Linked DNA regions of Homo sapiens: region 1 is linked to region 2. The links are contacts of gene promoters, found by promoter capture Hi-C in blood cells and fetal thymus (Javierre and others, 2016). All regions are on one chromosome and are shown on one strand. Each heading gives the region's core, a stretch centred on a gene start or on the middle of the fragment in contact. The rest is flanking DNA. Distances are from core to core; before and after follow the strand shown. Region 1 has its middle 28 kb from the start of IL9. Region 2 holds the start of SMAD5-AS1 (SMAD5 antisense RNA 1).

Region 1 (6,478 bases), core at 1,820-4,319, 210 kb after region 2:
TCATTTATTTCTTATCTCTTGGAGATCTTTGTCTTTTGTTGCCTGATATCTTGTTTCTCAAAAGTGTTGGGGCTCTGAAAATGACTCCAAAGCGAAGACCTTAGAAGCAGCCTCAAAAGCAAAGTTTCTCTCTGATCTTTTGCCCTTCTATCTCTCACCCCTCATTCTTCCCTGAGGCAAACCATAGAAACTAGAATTCCTCTTCCCCAAGGTAGGTCATAGAAACCAGAACCCTTTTCCCCCAAAGCCAGCCGTAAAACCTAAAAGTGTTGCTCTAACCTTCCTCTGCCTTTTTGGGTAACAGCTGGCTATAAAGAAATTAAGATTCCAGAAGGGTCCTACCCTATACCCAGGAGGAAGAAATGCTACAATATTTCTTCCTCAGGAAGAACCTAATCAGACAGACCTTGCTAGGTTTTTCCCAATCAGCCTATTACCATTAGCTCATAGCCTTTTGTTCATCTAATTACATTTCTATACACTGTCCCTGCTTCATCAAACCTAAACAAAAATCAGATAGCTCCCCTGTATCTTTGGGTCTTCGTTCTGAAGATTCCCATATCACATAAAGCTATGATCAAATAACTTTGTTATGCTTTTCTCTTGTTAACCTGTTGTCATAGGGATGTTGGCTGTGACCTATATAATGATGAGGAGGAAAAAAATCATTCCCTTTCTATTCCTACAAAAGTCATTGTTTCAAATACTTTGTGTGTTTTTGTTGTTGTTGTTGTTGATTTTGTTCTTTGGTTGTTTTGTCCCGGTTTTGTTTTTTTGTTCTTTTATGCAGAGAGGGAATTTATTCCCTATTTCTCTATCTTGGTTGTAATGAGAAATCTCTTCCTCACTTAGTAATGGCCAAATGAGCAATCCCCTTATATGGAAACATTGCAATTCTTTAACCTTCTTCTATTGCTGAACATTTAGTTTTTACTATTATAAAGTAGGCTGTGAAAATCCTGTATCTTGGTGCATTTCTGTGAATATTACTGAAGAATTTTTCTAGAATTTCAATTATTAGTATAAATATGTTGGATTTTGATGGAAAGAGCCATATCTAAAATGATGTCGGTCAGATAATTATGATATACTTTACAATACAGGAATACACAATATGCCATTTGTGATACAAAAAAGAACATCTCTGTATAGTCCTTTCAAAGAAAATATTATTATTAAGCTTTGAGCAAACAAAGATTTTGGTTGTTTAAGTCAGAATAGGCTAGGTTATGCTGAAATAACAAACACCTGTGATTTAATGCAAAAAAAAGTTTATTTCTCAGTCATGCTACACTTCTATCACACTTCAGCTAGAAGCTGTCATCCCTGTTGTGTTCATTCTGAGACCAAGGACGTTAGAGCAGCCACTGTCTGGAAAATAGTCTGTGACCATGGGAAAGAGACACTGAGGTACATACACTGCACCTTAACTTCTAACTGTATGTCAATTCTGTTCTTACTTCATTGGCCAAAGCTAGCTAAAATGGCAACACCTAACTTAAGTTAGGTAAAGAAGTGCAGTCCTACCTTATGCCTGGAAGAAGAAACCTGGAATGTTTGGGAACATCTGTACTGACTGTTACAAGTAAAATTGTGCAACAAAAATCACATCAAAAATATTTTCACACATAAAAAGATGTCTCTGTTTTGGTGGGGGGGGGTGGGATGGGAGGGTGGAGGGGGAGTGCATGTTGGACATTTCTGGGAAACCCTCAAGACAGCTTTAACTTCTGACACCAACTTCAGAGCTTGTGGATTCTCAAGATCAACCTCAAATGTGATAATTTGTCAGAAGGACTCACAGAACTCATGGAAAGCTGTTATATTCATGGTTGTAGTTTATTACAGTGAAAGGATACAGATTAAAATAATCAAAGGAAAGAGAGGCATGGAGAAGAATGCAAAAAAAAAAAAATCCATATGTAGAGCTTCCAAGTGTCCTCTTCCAGTGAAATCATGAGCAGTGCTAAATTTCTCCAGGCAACAATGTATAGCAATACACAACAGAGTACTGTCAATCAGGGAAGCTCTTTCATGTTTTGGTTGGAGTTTGGTCACATAGACATGGTTGACTGCCTGTGTGTGGTTGCTCTTTAGTTTCCAGCCTTCCCCACCCCTGAGGTCAAGGTGATATCACGTAGCCCAAAACCTCCACCATAAACTACATTATTAGACTGTCCCATGTGGCCCGAGGTTCCCAGGTAAACAAAGACACTCCTATCAGGTAAGACACTCCAAGGACTAAGAGATCACCTCCTAGGAGCTAAATGCAAAAGTCAGACCTTTGTTTGGGTAAGGTTAACTCTTTACTACACTAGGATCAAATTGTATTTGACTCAACATCATTTCAGAACTCTGCAATGAAATTGTTTATGTATCTTATTGTGAAGAAAAATACAGGTAAACTCTACCAATAATTTTTCTATTTAATAAAGAATCTTTATTTTTGGCACTGTGGTGGGATAAAGTAATGCTATACAGGCATATTTCACTTTATTGCACTTCTCAGATGTTGTGTTTTTTACAAGTTGAAGTTTTATGGTAACCCAGGATCAAGCAAGTCTATCGGCACCATTTTCCCAACAGCACGTACTCACTTTGTGTTTCTGTGTCACATTTTGGTAATTCTTGCAATATTTTGAACTTTATTATTATTATATCTGTTATGGTGATCTGTGATTTGGGATCTTTGGTGTGTCCATTGTAATTGGTTTGGGATGACACAAACTGCACCCATATTAGAAGGCAAACTTGATAAATGTGTGTGTTCTGAGTTCCAATCACTGGCTGTTTCCTCATCTCTCTCCCCCTCCTTGGGCATCTCTATTCCCTGAGACACAACAGTATCGAAATTAAGCCAATTAATAACCCTAGAATGGCCTCTAAGTGTTCAAGTGAAAGGATAAGTTCCTTGTCTCTCACTTTAAATTCAAATCTAAAAATGATTAAGCTTGGTGATGAAGGCATGTCAAAATCGGACATACGCTGAAAGTTAGGCTTCTTGTGTTAAACAATTAGCCAAGTTTTGAATGCAAAGGAAAAGTCCTTGAAGGAGATTAAAAAGTGCTACTCCAGTCAACACGCAAATGACAAGAAAGTGAAACAGCCTTATTGCTGGTATGGGGAAAGTTTTCATGGTCTGGATAGAAAATGAAATCAGCTATAACCTGCCCTTAAGCCAAAGCTTAATCCAGAGCAAGGCCCTAACCTCTTTAATTCTATGAAGGTTGAGAGAGGTGAGGAAGCTGCAGAAGAAAAGTTTGAGATTAGCAGAGTTTGGTTCATCAGATTTAGGGAAAGAAGCCATCTCCATAACATAAAAGTGCAAGGTGAAGCAGCAGGTGCTGATGGAGAAGCTGCAGCAAGTTATCCAGAAGATCTAGCCAAGATCATTGATAAAGGCAGCTACATTCAAAACAGATTTTCAATGTAGATTAAACAGTCTTCTATTGGAAGGAGATGCCATCTAGGACTTTCATAACTAAAGAGGAGAAATCAATGCCTTGTACCAAAGCTTCAAAGAACAGCTGGCCTCTTTTGTTAGGAATAATGTGGGTGGTGACTTTAAATTAAAGCATTGGCTTTACTTTAATGTTCATTTACTATTCTAGAAATCCTAATTCCATTAAGAATTATGCTTAATCTGCTCCTTCTCTGTTCTAGAAATATGACAAAGCCATCTGTTTACAGCATATTTTACTATTTTAAGCCCACTATTGAGATCTACTTCTCAGAAAAAGAGATTCCTTTCAAAATATTACTGTTCATGGACAGTGCTCACCCAAGAGCTCTGATAGAGATGTACAAGGAAATTAGTGTTTTCAGGCCGGCTAACACAATATCCATTCTGCAGCCCATGCATCAAGGATTGATTTCCAAGTCCTACTATTTAAGAAATATATTTTGTAAGGCTATTGCTGCCATAGATAGTTATTCCTCTGATATATCTGGGCAAAGCAAATTGAAAACCTACTGGAAAGGATTCACCATTCTAGATGCTATTAGGAACATTTGGGCTTCATGGGAGGAGGCCAAAGTATCAATATTAACAGGAGTTTGGAATAAGTTGATTCCAGCCTAAATGGATGACTTTGAGGGGTTTAAGACATCATGGAGGAAGGAAGTGCAGGTGAGGTGGAAACTGCAAGGGAACTAGAGTAAGAAGTGGAGCCTGAAGATGTGACTGAATTGTTGCAGTCTCACAAGAATTGAACAGATGAGGAGTTGCCTGTCATGGGTGGGCAAAGAAAGTGGTTTCTTGAGATGGAGTCTATTTGTGGTGAAGATGCTGTGAACATTGTTGAAATGACAACAAAGGATTTAGCATATTCCATAAACTTAGTTGATAAAGCAGCAGCAGGGTTTGAGAGTATTTATTCCAATTTTGAAAGAAGTTCTAATGTGGGTAAAATGCTACCAAACAACATTAAATGCTACAGAGAAATCTCTTGTGAAAGGAAGAGTCAATCCGTGTGCAAACTTCACTGTTGTCTTATTTTAAGAAATTACCACAGACACCCCAATCTTCAACAACTACTACCCTGATCAGTCAGCGGCCGTCAACATCAAGACGAGATCCTCCACCAGCAAGAAGATGATGACTCACTGAAGGTTCAGATGATGGTTAGCATTTTTTTTTCAGTCAAGCATTTTTAAATTAAGGTACGTAAAGATTTTAAACATAATGCTCCTGCACACCTAGACTACAGTATAGTGTAAATATAACTTGTATATGCACTGAGAAACCAAAAATTCATACAAATTGCTTCAATGAGGTATTTGCTTTATTGCAGTGGTCTGGAACTGAACCCACAATATCTCTGAATCATGTCTGTATGTGGCTTAATATGTAAACTGCCCACTTCCGAGAGAAAAGTTCAGGTACATTTTGCACATGTTTTCCCTTGGACACTGCAAAACACCTTGCCAGCATAAAAAGACACTGTAAGATTTCCCTCTGTTCTAATTCATTTCATTTAAACCTGCAATGGATTAATTATGTCCTGAAGATTGATCATATTTTTCCTTTAAGAATTTGTTTTTTACTATTTAAAATATAAATAGCCTATTATCTACATCAGTCAAGATTTCTTGCCTGTGCAAAAATCTCTCAACATTTTTGAGATACAGTTTTTACTTCATATTTCTTTAGATTAAGTTTTCCCTAAAGGAAATTAGTAAAGGAGCTATTTAACTTTACTTCAAGATTAAGGCTATTCATTTTAAAATCACAAGTCCCAGCTAGTGTGTCTCTAAATGTAGAAGAGCTTGCTGTTCTTTGCATTCTATCCACAGTATGAAGCCCTCGTAAATGGGGAATTATGAAATAAGCATTTCTAAATGGGTCAGGCTTAGTCATCACTGACAACATTGATTCAAAGCCATTACTCTGTGTTGAAAAGTGAATAAAGTCAAGGGCATTGTATGGAGCTCAAGATTTCATTAACAACATGTTCTTCTGGTTTATGGTGGACTTTTTTTGCACAGCTTCATGGATCTGAAGTTATCACTTTTTAAAATAAGGAATAAAAATAATTTTTAACCTATTGCTTTTTACTATTGCTCTTCTAGTAAAGCTTTCACATTGCAACATATTTAAAATAAAATGTAACACTGAATCATGTTTTCCAACGTTGCAGATTACTTGGTTTCAAAAGCTGAAATTCAAGGAAAATAATTCTACAAATATATTTTGTTTAAAAAGAAGCAAGTGATTTTATTGCCATGTTTAACTGAAAATTTCATAGGAATACTTTGTTAATCTCGAGATAATTTTCTGTAGTCATTTTATTTATGAAAGACAAAACTCTGTATTATTACTTTGATTGTCAGCATAAGTCTGGGATCAAGAGAAACAGGGTTAGTCCTTCAAAATCACCTAATAAAAGTAGGTTAGTACGTCATGTTTTATAGATGTCCTGGTGATCCGTCATTTTAAAGTGCATTTCAAAAAGGAGTCATTACCAAAAAAAAATTTCATAGTGTTTTTAGCAAAAGGAAAATGTTAACACAAAGATATTTCTTATAAAGAACAGGGAACTGTTTCAAGCTACTAAATTTTGATTTGTTTGTTTATGGCATGTCCTCCCATGTTAATTTACAACCTATGAAAACTGACATATTTTAAGATTAAAAATTAAGAACTTAAAATTAAGTGGTTTTGATTAATTTGATTTACTGGTTCTAGAAAGAAAATGCTCTGAAGTGATTTTTTAAAAAAGATTATAGTTAATTGAAGGAATACTCTGTATTACCAATTACCCTAAAATCATAAAATAGAGTACTTCCCAGAGGAAATAGAAAAGAGCTACAATAGTTAACAGATATAATATTTAAAATGCCATAGGATAGTGGTATACTGCCAGCAATCCCACCAATCAAGTGCCAACAGAAATAAGGCAACTCTTTATAAACAAGGTATTGAGAAGACTTTAAGAAATCAGACTTACTGATATCAACAAGGTTTGCCAGTGAAGGA
Region 2 (6,609 bases), core at 925-3,424:
AAACATCCCCCCTAGCTGCCCAAGGCAAAAAAAAAAAAAAAAAAAATCAAAACTAAATAAAGAGCCCAGCCAGGCACGGTGGCTCACACCTGTAATCCCAGCACTTTGGGAGGCCATAGCGGGCAGATCACTTGAGGTCAGAAGTTCGAGACCAGCCTGGCCAACGAGGTGAAACTCCATCTCTATTAAAAATTCAAAAAATGAGCTGGACGTGGTGGTGGGTGCCTGTAATCCCAGCTACTCAGGAGGCTGAGGCAGGAGAATCGCTTGAAGCCGGGAGGCAGAATTGCAGTGAGTCAAGATCGCGTCACTGAACCCCAGCCTGGGCGACAGAGAGAGACACTCTCAAATAAATAGCCCAGAACTAGCTGATTATTTATGAAAAACCTAAGAACTCTGTAATTACCCCATCTTTCCAGGTTGGAAAACAACAAAGCTGTTAGAATATTAAGGTGGCCTATGAGATTAGTCCTAACAACAATCTAGTTTTTAACAATTCTTCCAAAAGAGTTCTAAATCTTTACCTCCCATTTAGTAAACAAACTTCTCAGATTCAGACTTCTGATTAGAGGTAAAGGGTATGTGACAACACCAATGAACTGCAAATTCCAATGACTATTATTCTATTAACTTCAGAAGTGGAAAAACAAGGTATGTTAAGAGTTCAAGACCAGCCTGGCGAACATGGTGAAACACCGTCTCTACTAAAAATACAAAAATTAGCCGGGTATGGTGGTGGGTGCCTGTAATCCCAGCTACTTGGGAGGCTGAGGCAGGAGAATTGCTTCAACCCGGGAGGCGGAGGTTGCAGTGAGCCAAGATTGCGCCACTGGACTCCAGATTGGGCGACAGAGCTAGAACCCAGTGGCGGGGGGATGCCATGGGTCAGCTTCCAAGGGTCCTTCATCATCTGTTTTGATGGGAAAGCACCCTATATTGCATCCCAGCTTCCTTGGGCCTTTTCTTTTCTCTAGAATATTCTTTTCTCTAGAATATCCAGGTATTCTTTTCTCTAGAATATCCAGACTGGTGGAGACAAGAATCATTCCTCAGGCTACTAGTATCCCTTATAAAAGGGAATCTTACTCAATGTCTTTGACCCTATGAGAAGACGGGCAAATCATAGGCTATAAGCTGCTTGTAACATTTGAAGAAATAAACTATTTGCCTTCTTTGTGGTTAGTGTACAGAGAGACAGAGAGACAGACAGACAGATACAAGGAATATAGATCGTCTAGAAGTAAAAACAGGGAAGACTGATAAACCAAGAGAATAGACACCTATATCCTCAAGCGTACTCAAGTCAGCTCTGAAATTCACCCAGATGTGTGGCTCATTGCCTAGACCAACATATACATCTGGTAATAATAAACACTGATATGTCATAAACAAAAAGAGTTTCTTTAACTCTACAAAGTACTAGTAATATTAAAATTTACATAAAGACAAAGAATATATATGAAATAGATTTTTTTAGATGGTATTTCAACTTAAGTAACTGTATTAAGAAATGAAAAACTGGTATTTTACTGCCTAGTTTTCAAAACACTAAAATCTTTAATTTGACCAAGTTACAAATCTGTTTTCAGTAGAGGGAGAAAACACACTGCCTCCGTTCAATGCAAAGGACAAAAAAGATCATCACTGCAAATCATAATGTTTGGGTTCATGATGAAAACAGGAAACAGACAGGCTGCCCAGGTATAATTATGGTTGTAATCTAATGTGCCTTCAGGTTCAGCCAAGAATTAAAACCCAGTGAAGAGGGTAAGCAGAATTTACTTGCCTCTACTTTGCTGCAGAATGCAACTTTTAATAATACTCCCAGCAACATGTTACATAACCAACAGTAAACAACAATCTGATTCAAACCTCATTAGTAACAACATTCTGCCACTGTCTCCCACTGAAATTAATAGCTGACTTTGCCAGAGGGGAAAGAAATCCAACACATTATCAATCTACCCATTTCTGTGGCGCCTACCACAGTGAACCAGACACGCAGATAATACTACCAGATCTGTACAGAACCTACGAAAATATTTTATTCTTTTTTTCCAGTTTGCTGCTCTCTTCCTCCTTTTAACTAGACCATATCATGTGGATGCCTTTAAAACCTGAGAGTAAAGTCAGTTGAGAAGGTTAATCTAACTTTTCTTGCTTATTTCAGCTATGATCTGAAAGGAATGGAAGCACAAAATGATGAATAAGGTATTTTTAACAAAGATACATGGGTAAATTAACAGCAGTAATGTAAAAAAGACTGAGGGAGCAACAATGTGGAAAGGGAAGGAAAGGAAGCTGTATAGGAACAATCACACAAATAATCATCAAAATTAAACTTTATAAATCTAAACATAGTATCTACAACCTTTATGAAGGTTAAGTTTTGTTAAATTGTCTAAGTTTTGCATTTTTACAATTTTCACTGTAGAGAAAAAAATATTAATAGTTACCAAAGGAATAAAAGACTAAAATAATTTGTTATACATCTGCAAATAGCTCCTTAAATTTGGAACACTAATTTCATAATGATATTTGGATCCATAAATGTGAAACTGTCACACTGAATGTAGGTACTGTTTTCCCCACAATGGATACTACTGCATTGGCATCTAGCAGAAATTGTAAGCTATTTGGAATGTTACTAAACCTACTGGGACTAAGGTTTTCAATCTTTTGTCTTTCAAATTAAAATTAAAAACTAATTCACTCTGGGCAATTCAGGTACTCTAAGGAAATTCAAGTACTCTAGTTTTAAATACGAATTTTCAAAAACGCAACCCAAGTACCCTTTCCTCTCAACTTCTGTGAGGCCAAGCCACGACCTCCACCTATTCAATCTTTGCTGCTAGATAACAACCCTTTTGGTAGTGCTAGGCAACAGGCATGATGTGACAAACCTAGACATCAAAACTTTTCCACAGAAAGATAAGGTAAACAAGATATACTTAGCGCCACACCCATTTAAATGCACAAGCAACCAAAATTGCTCCCTCCCCCCGCAACACCCCCCCCCCCCCCCCAAAGCTCCAGCTGGTCAGGAAACATTGTCTTTACAATCAAGATAAACATCTGGCTCAGGGTGTTCAGCCATTCCTCACCTACAGGCTTGCCTAAGCCCCATTCTCCAATGCCATCACCACCAGAACCGGAACATTCTGTTGGGAAGCCGGCAAACGTCCAAATACCCCAAGTATCCTCGCCCGAGTTCTGCAACCAAAAATCTGTTTTGGCTACTGAGCATGCTCAGACTTAAGACGGGCGCGCCACATGGGAGTTTTCAAAGCTTAGGCTCCAAACTCCACGTAGTAACAGCAGCTGAAAGGAGGAGAGGGGAAAAGGGGAGGGGAAGAGACTGGAATATTAATTTGAGCCCTGATATTGAAGTATAGGACCCGGCCAGCGGCTGAATATGGTGAAGGCAAAAAGACGCTGCTTTGGCATTCTCTTTGCAGCACAGAGAAGTTTACATGAAGTAGAAGAAATCCTTGCAGTGGTGAAAACTGACATGGCAAGTGGCAGAAACCAGGTCTAACTACCAGCTGATTGCAGTAGCCGGTCACAACTGCCCAGAGTGTAATTCCCACCGATAAGCGCGGATCCTTATCTTTGAAACACAAAGCGACGGCGGCACGGATTCATCAAGCCATTGGACAGCTTCGCAGTGCAGCAGCCCAGGCTGCCCGGCCGAGCACCGCAGTCCTATCAAGGGTGTGTATCCAGGGTGGTACATCCGATGAGTTAGGAAAGCAAACCGCTCCCCAGGACAGCGCGGGGTCAGGGGGTCCCCTCCAGGGCGTCCCAGACGCCTCCCTCCAAAGTCTGGGCGGTAACAGCGGGGCTGGGACGAGGGCCAGCCCCGGCCCCGCCTCAGGACGCCCCGGGCAGCCAGCGAGGCCTCCGCAGCCGCTGGGCCGCACCGTGTCCGCCAGCCGGGACCCCGGCAGGCCAGGACTCGGCCTACCTCCCGCCCGACAGGCCCTGGGTCGTTTCCGCTCCGTCCGCGGCCGAACGCCCCCGCCTCGGCCCGAGTCCGCCGGGGCAGAGCCTGCAGCCCCCAGTTCCCCTCGCCCGCGCGCGCCGGGGACCCTCACTCACTCGCGAGCCGGCTAGGCGCGCTCTCCCGACGCCGTCGCTGCGCTTCTCCTCGCTGCAACTTTATTAGCAGCTCGGCCGCGGGACACGCGCACGGCGCCCGCTCGCCCAGGACCCGGATGAGGGAGGGAGGGAGAGGGAGCCCGGGAGGACGCCCGCTGGGGTCGGCGCATGCGCGCCAGAGGCGGAGTGACCGCTGCGGGACCGAGGGAGGGGTGTCTTGCCCGGGCGGCTGAAAGAAGCCTCCGCGCCGGGCTCCGCGCCGGCCAACGCCGACTTCCGATCAGCTGGAGGCCTTCGCGTCGATGGCCAGGCCTGGGAATGGGAATCAGATAGCTCCCACCACCACCACAGTAGGCGCTAGAAGCTTCCACTAACCAAATCAGTATACATTGTAATAAAATTAAGTAATTGTCCTTGACACAGACAACTGGAGGTTTTCTGTCACATACAAAGTGTAAACAAAAACATCTTCAGATACGACTTAGCTACTTTTATTGATCTGTAATACAAATCTGAATGAAGAGTCTTCTTTCTGTGCAAAGTAGCTTCAAAACATGTTTCTGAGCATCTTACAGCTTCTTACTAGATGCAGCACTAAAACCCCTCCCACGGGGCAATCCTGGAACCCTTGAGGGCCTGTGGAAATGGAGCGAGTGCCCACCCTGGAGTTCCAGGAGTGGGACTGCCCATACACTGGATCGCAACCCCAGTTGTTCAAGACACATAGCCTCTCCACCTCCTTGTGGGGAGGGAGATCCCGTGGGGACCCAGCCCCTGGACAGGCGGGGCCACTGAGTTGCAGAGACACCATCCATAGGCTTATATACACCACCCCATCTCCTGGACTCTCTTTTCTAAGTAATTGGAGCTCTTCTCGATGCTTTTTCCTCCAAATTTCCAAAACCGTCAGTATTTCCTAGAATATAATATTGGTACCACATAGGGTACCCGATTTGAATAGTACTAGTAAGAAAAAGCTTTTGAATAATTTTGTTTTTATTTGAAAAGGTCAATACTGGCTCTCCAATGTTCTATTATAGGTTTTCTTTTTAAAATAAGTAAAAATCAAAATCGGGGTCATTTTGGAATGCTCTTTGACACCCTAATCCAATCCATCAGAAATTCTACTGACTCTTTCTTCAAAATTTATCCTAAATCTGACCATTTCTCACACCTCAATTGCCACCTCCATGGCCCGAGCCAGGGTCATCTCATCTGACACACAAATGGCGCAGCCACTATTTTGCTCCAGGCTCTAGAAGTTTATTTCTGTGGAGAAGAAACTAAATAAATGTCCAGAAGTCTCTGCATTAGGGGTGGCCATCTGAAATGGTGACAGAGGGCTAGTAAAGGAGTGAAGGGGAAGTGGGGGAAGAGACCAGAGAGTGAGTGTCTAGTTCCAGAGACCAAAGGGGTCACTGCTATTTCATTCCAGCCAACTGTTACCATAGGGAAATGTGGGAATAAGGACCCAGTGTTGGCAGATATTCTGATTTTTCAAGCAAAGCTGGAAATTTAGATTTTTATGTGAAAATCTCAATTATATCTGTTTAGCAACTTCTTTCTATTTTTCTCTCTCTTTGCCTGTCTCCTGCCCGCCCCCCACCCCGCTCCCTTCCTCTCACTCTGTTAGACATTCTGGAGGCCAACTACATGCAAGCCAAACAAAACAAATCCATGGTCCCGATTTAGCCTACTGGCCACCAGTTTGCAATTTCAGGTCTCCATCTTAAACTTCTTTACTACATCATAAACTTTGAGAAAGTAAAGTCTGTGTACTTTAACTCTTTGTCACACTCACTGATTATTTGTTGTTAATTCAGAAGTTTCCAGCCCTTGGAAGGCAAATATTTCTGGAGCCTGCATGGGTTTACAACTCCCAGAAGTGCATATAATCCTGCCTTGGAGGATACGTTTTTTTTTTTTCCAGAACTGATGTTTGCAGAGTGCTTTGTTGAACATTATAGGACATAACAATTTGGTTTAAATATTTTGTATAGTAGAGATACTCCTCACTTCAAACAGCCAATAAAATCCTTCCCAAAACAAATTATTTGCTGTTTTGCAGTCACTGTACATACGTCAGAAGAATTTGTGATTACAAGATTCCTTTTCATAATCACATATGTAATCTCATAGCCAACAGTTTTGCTTCCTAAGTTATGTGTCCACATACTGATCAAATCAGCCAGCAACTCCAGCCTCTCCAACTTGCTATTTGAGCTCAGTTTAGGTCTAAAGTTGGAAGAGATAACATAGAAGAGAGGAATGGAGATTTTAGTACCACACCAGCAGCCTTCCGAAGGTCTAAGAAATTACCTAGACCTCAAAGACTATGGAAAATCAGAGGGATCACTAAATATCTATACAGTCAAAAACATTATAAAACAGCAAATGAACAGGAATCCCAGAACCATAAGAATGAAGTAAGGAAGTCCCTGTTTTTGGCAATCAAATGGGATCTAAGAACAAATGTAGAACAGGATGATCTGAACAGATAGACATAGT

The links. The method cuts DNA at HindIII sites, captures the fragments that hold promoters and counts their contacts. A CHiCAGO score of 5 or more calls a contact.
Region 1: a contact is called between a fragment that was not itself captured here and the fragment with the promoter of SMAD5-AS1 in region 2, in 1 of 17 cell types (M1 macrophages). The highest score is 5.0, in M1 macrophages.

What each region holds. Positions count from the first base shown.
Region 1 is chr5:135,920,459-135,926,936 of GRCh38, reverse strand. No RefSeq gene overlaps it. Among named protein-coding and RNA genes, the nearest start is that of IL9, 28 kb to the right of the region's middle. The HindIII fragment of the contact is 234 bases long and covers 2,953-3,186 here.
Region 2 is chr5:136,130,455-136,137,063 of GRCh38, reverse strand. It overlaps SMAD5-AS1 (SMAD5 antisense RNA 1), which reads left to right and starts at 2,174. Exons shown (of 2, transcript NR_026763.1): 1 at 2,174-3,714. It overlaps SMAD5 (SMAD family member 5), which reads right to left and starts at 4,219. Exons shown (of 8, transcript NM_005903.7): 1 at 4,102-4,219. RefSeq lists a silencer at 3,866-4,505 and enhancers at 4,816-4,865, 4,896-4,955. The HindIII fragment of the contact is 4,393 bases long and covers 1-3,291 here.